Regions from separate parts of the Homo sapiens genome. Here region 1 is linked to region 2. The links are contacts of gene promoters, found by promoter capture Hi-C in blood cells and fetal thymus (Javierre and others, 2016). All regions are on one chromosome and are shown on one strand. Each heading gives the region's core, a stretch centred on a gene start or on the middle of the fragment in contact. The rest is flanking DNA. Distances are from core to core; before and after follow the strand shown. Region 1 overlaps BRWD3 (bromodomain and WD repeat domain containing 3). Region 2 holds the start of ATRX (ATRX chromatin remodeler).

Region 1 (2,700 bases), core at 115-2,614, 3.0 Mb after region 2:
TTTGTACTCTTTCCTTTTCATACCCCAATACACCTTAAGTTTGTAATGCTGCTATATAATGTAATATTCCAGGTAAATCAAGATGATACTATTAATACTTTGCCCTAAATTTCAATCCAAAACATGCAGCTAAATCAAAGACCACACTTTATAAATCTATCATTCCAATAACAATTTAAAAAATACCTACCCCAGGCCGGGCGCGGTGGCTCATGCCTGTAATCCCAGCACTTTGGGAGGCTGAGGTTTACGAATCACGAGGTCAAGAAATCGAGACCATCCTGGCCAACATGGCGAAACCCCGTCTCTACTAAAAAATACAAAAATTAGCTGGGCGTGGTGGCGCGTGCCTGTAGTCCCAGCTACTTGGGAGGCTGAAGCAGGAGAATCGCTTGAACCTGGGAGGCGGAGGTTGCAGTGAGCCGAGATCCCGCCACTGCACTCCAGCCTGGCAATAGAGCGAGACTCCCTCTCAAAAAAAAGAAAAAAACAAAAACACCTACCCCAAGAAAAAGTATCCCATCTCTTCTACAATGCAGCCACTCAAAATCAGGTCATATGTGAAATAATTTTAATCAAAAATATTACTGACAAACTTAGCAATCAAACCAACACTGCACATTCACTTCTCAGCCACTACACTTCTGTTCAAATTATCACTCAACCCTGCCCATCTTCTCTTACAAAGAAGTCCATAGGTAGAGAACAGACATGTAAAAGAAAACCATGGTATCTAAACTATAATGTTCAAACAACAGAACAAACTCTGTGTACGTAAAAAAAATAGAAAATATAAAAACAGAAAAGAATATTTAAAAGATACGTTAAAATTGAGTATATGTAAGAATTAACAATTTTATTTAATTCCTTAAAGGTTAAGCCTCACTAGTAATGAAAAAAAAAGAGCTACTTAAGTCAACCAGGAGCTATTGCCATCTATTAAATATTAAAGAAACTGAATGATTTAAAGCTATTAAAAAACTCACTCTAAATACCTAGATGATGACATTATAAATTAGTACAATCTTCTGGAGAGCAAACAATATATGACAAGAGCTATAAAACTCATGAGACCCTTTGACCTGGTAACTCCACTTTAGGGAATAAAGTCCAGGAAAATAACTGGGGGCAGAAGGGATAGGGGAGAAAGTAAAAAGCAGAAAAAGACCACCTAACTATGCAAAGTTATTAGTAAAAATCTGGAAGTAGCTCAAATGCTCAACTGGAAGCTTGGTTCAAATCATATCGTACCTTAAATACAACTGAATTTTTTCTTACCATTAAAATAATGATGACTATTCAAATACACAAGTACATTTTTAAATGTTAAGAAAAATATGAAGCATAAAATGGACACTGATCACAATTATGTAAAAATGTCTTTACAATATGAGGAAAAGTCTAGTAAACTGGGTTGTTGGGGTTTTTTTGGTGAGGAGACTATTTTTTAATTACTTTGATTTTCATTTCCTTTTTATCACTGTCAAGTTAGTTTCAAAAAAGCTTTTTCCTTTTAATCTCCTTTGCCACTTGCTTAAAATAACACATATAGGCTGTGAGAAGGACAAATGTAAAGGAAAACATTTTCAATACACCTCAGTATTAAAACTATATATAAAAACCTGTATCAGTCATTAAGTGTTAAAACATATTAGTAGGCACTGTTGTTTTTGCCTCTTTTAGGGGGAGGGAAAGACTTAAGTCCAACAGAAAGACTGACTACAAATTAACCTGGCAGTACATGAAGTTTTTCAAAACTAATTTTTCTCCATCTGAGAAATTGTTACTATTAATAATACAGATGGTCGAGTTTACCCTTATCACAATTATACCATTTTCTGTGATTTGCAAAATATAAGAAAACTATACAGTCGGTAGACTTGATAATAATAATGTGGCCTCACTGTTGTAAGATAACACAAACAAAAATAACAAAATGAACATTGAAGCAATTTAAATATAGTCTTATTGCAAGCAAATTTTAAATCATTTATATTTAGAGTCTATCATACACCGCCAACTTTCTTTAACTTTGTCCGATTTTCCTCCACTTGGATCTTACTTGAAGGAAAGATAGCTGAATTTAGATTTTAGTAACATCATTCCTTTCTCCTTTCACTACCCTCCAATGCACTGTGGCAGCAGCTAACACAAGGGAACCTCCCCCGCAAAATAAAAAGGATCACCTGTTTTTGTGTGTCAATGCTGAACACAAGGTACATTTATACTATGAATTATATTTGCAGGAGAAACAACATAGACCAATGCCTTTGGTCCTTCACTAAAGTATATTCCATTTTTAAATATGTCCATTGTTGTCTCCTTGTAAACCCAAAATCGTGTTTCACCAATTCTCAAAAAGTGATAACTCAGTTTCTATTTAGTGAAAACGGGTCTATGCAAATGCGACTTAACTGATAATTGAATGAGCTTATAAAATCGGAGATACGTAACGATTATGCTTTTACTCAGTAGACCATTACCTAACCGGCAAAATTTGAAATTGGCTTGACGCTCCTTATTATTTTTAATTATGTCGTTTTTCCTAATCCCTGGTCCGTCAATTCCCCTCCAGAGCCCCTTCCTCCCACGCCTCCCCCCTGCCCCCCCGCCCCCCCCAAAAAAGACCAAGCCTGGCCTTAGTTCCCGTATTTCAGGCCAGGACCAACCAGAAACCAGTTTTCTTCCACTAATCCGGAA
Region 2 (2,856 bases), core at 184-2,683:
ATTGCCCAATTCTACATTCTAGCTAAATTGCTCTAAAAACATATGCCAATCTAAGAGTTACTCAAAGGCACATTTCGCCAACTTGAAATGCAATTCTGACCCATGCTCCTTGTAATTTTATTTTGCCACTGGACGCCAAGGATGCATCTCCGAGTAAAAAAATTACTTAATTCACATTGTGGGATGAAAATTCAAATGTCAAACTGAAACGCCAGCCAGCCACCTGGGTAAAAGTGTATACATTTCATATTGACTACCCAAATTTTCAGACCCGTCAAGAGGCAAATCAGAAGCACACAGAAAAACAGCTTCAACCTAATAAACGTGCTTGATTGGTTAAGAGGAGGCCTGCCAGGCATTTTCCCTTGCAATAAATCTTACTTCGCATCAGCCCACGTTAACCTGCCCTTCATCCTTCATGGAATAAATAAGTAAATAAAGATAGGGCCTAATTACTCCTCGAAATTTGCCCAGAAAGTGGGGAAACACTTGAGGTCCCATTAAGGCTGGACATCACAAAAAGTAGTATACTAGGGTCCTCTGGAAGCAAAACCCTGTGTTAAGTCCCCCCTCGCCTAGAAATAAACCCAAGGATATCCTTCAGGATATGGAGTAGAAAAGATACCTAAATACCTGGAACTGCACCACAACCCAATCAAAAAAAGGCTTGTCTCCTGGGGCTGCAGAAAAAAAATCCCGCAGGGCCCGGGTGCTTCCCATCTCCAGCAACCTAAACGCCTCTAAGTCGTCCTGGGATCTCACATCCTCGCGCCCGCCCACCCCTCCCCCTCTTCTCACCCTCCCCCCGCTTCTTCCCCACGCAGTTTCTAGGCCCAAAGATTAGCAAAAATGACCGGGATACCAAAGACCGCCTCCGACTTCGAGGTCTCAATCCCACAGGCACCAAAGAATAAACAGAGGAGCCCGACCAAGCGTCACCGTTTAGGGGAGATTGCAAGAAGCGCCCCATACCCTAGGCCGCGCCCCCCCCACCTCCCCCCACCCCATCCCCACCCCCACCCCCGTCGGAGCCTTGCGCCGATACCCCGAAACCCTTCTCACCTAAAGAGAAAACGATGCCTCTTTCGGCTAAGCAACACACAGGCCTAACCCACCAAGCGAACGCCTTCCCAAACACCCGACTCAGACGGTGCCTGGGCCCAGACCGCTGGGGCCCATGAGACGGGGTTGCGTTTTACCTCATGGGCTCAGCGGTCATGTTTTCGCTTGAACGCCTTGTCGGCTTCTGTGATTGCTGGGCGCCGATCTGCGCTCCCCCGCGCCCGGTTACGATAGAAATGCACTGGAGTCTTAGTCGTCACTGTAGCTGCTGCTGGAACCTCCCCACAGCTCAAAGGCCGCTACCACTGCCACCGCCGCAGGAGCCGCGGAAACAAAGCGACACCGCTGCCGCCGCCATTTTGTTGGGCCGAGGCTCAGGCAGGAGAATTGGCGCGTCCTCCCTCTTTCTCTTTCCGTCAGCCATTGGCTACCTCCTCCAAAGCACAGAGTCTTATTGGCTACGGAAATTCACCTTCTTTGGGGGCCTGTTGCTAAGGCGGTCGACGTCATTTGATCCCCTCCACCTTTTCGCAGGGGGTCCAATTTAGTCCCAATTGACCTGAAAGTGCTAGTGACATAGTTTGACTTTATTTTGAAAATGCTCTTTTGGTCCAACCTCTTTTTTCTTTGACATATTAACGAAGTAATAACAGCAACCTACATTTATTGAGAGTTTACTATATGCTCGGCACTACACTAATCCTTTATCCGGGTTATCTCATTTAATCTTTACACTCTCTGAGGTAGACAAACCTACATTTTCCAGATGAGGAAACCAAGACACAAAGTCCCACAGTAGTGGAGCCGAGATTCACCAGACACTCTTAACCACTAATCTGTATGGCCATCCTATGTAAGTATTTTCTTTCCTATATGCTAGGCTATCATCAAGTTATTTGCTTTCCTAGATGTTTTATACATAATATTTGGCACACCAACATGCTTGGAAATGTATATGTGTATAATATACTTATATATATGTATATGTGTGCAGACGACATAAGACCAACTTGAACGCTGCATAAAATTCTTTCCATATTGAATAAAGTGTCTCTTAGAATACACACACACACACACACACACACACACACACACACACACACACGGGCCATTTCCCCAATTTGATGTGATGTTTAGCTCACAAACCAATCAATTTAGATCTGCTTCCTTCTCATTACAGAGGAAGCTTGGCTGGATGATCTGTAAATGCCTTTCCCGCTTTTATGATCTATAATTTGATTTTACATTGGTAATCTCTGCTAATCACAAACAAGTCCTCTAAAATCTAATCGCTTCGAAATTTATTTCCAAATTTATTCTGCCATGCATGCTTTAGTTCATTCTATTTATTTTTCTTGAAATATGCAAGAGCTCCTGTCGGGGTTAGGTGACAGGGTTGCTGCTTTCTACTGGGATAGCAAGAGGGGAGCCTTTTTTGAATGAAACACTTTGAAAATCTGATAGGCTCAGGCAACTTTTTTTTTTTTTTTTTCTGAGACAGGGTCTAGCTCTGTCACCCAGGCTGGAGTGCAGTGGCGTGACGCAGTTCACTGCAGCCTCGACCTCCTAGGCTCAAGCAATCCTCCCACCTCAGCCTCTCAAGCAGCTGGGACTGCAGGCGCGTGCCATCAAGCCCAGCTAATTATGTATTTATGTATTGGTATAGATGAGGTAGGTCTGTCTGTTGCCCAGGCTGGTCTCAAACATCTAAGCTCAAGCCATCCTCCAACCTCGACCTCCCAAAGTGCTGGAGTTACAGGGGTGAGCCACCGCGCCTGGCCTCAGGCAACTTTT

The links. The method cuts DNA at HindIII sites, captures the fragments that hold promoters and counts their contacts. A CHiCAGO score of 5 or more calls a contact.
Region 1: a contact is called between a fragment that was not itself captured here and the fragment with the promoter of ATRX in region 2, in 1 of 17 cell types (total B cells). The highest score is 6.0, in total B cells.

What each region holds. Positions count from the first base shown.
Region 1 is chrX:80,805,460-80,808,159 of GRCh38, forward strand. All of the region lies in intron 4 of BRWD3 (bromodomain and WD repeat domain containing 3), which reads right to left. Among named protein-coding and RNA genes, the nearest start is that of BRWD3, 3.1 kb to the right of the region's middle. The HindIII fragment of the contact is 274 bases long and covers 1,228-1,501 here.
Region 2 is chrX:77,784,783-77,787,638 of GRCh38, forward strand. It overlaps ATRX (ATRX chromatin remodeler), which reads right to left and starts at 1,434. Exons shown (of 35, transcript NM_000489.6): 1 at 1,200-1,434. The coding sequence starts at 1,219. RefSeq lists a silencer at 1,048-1,097 and enhancers at 1,198-1,307, 1,318-1,507. The HindIII fragment of the contact is 7,766 bases long and covers 1-2,246 here.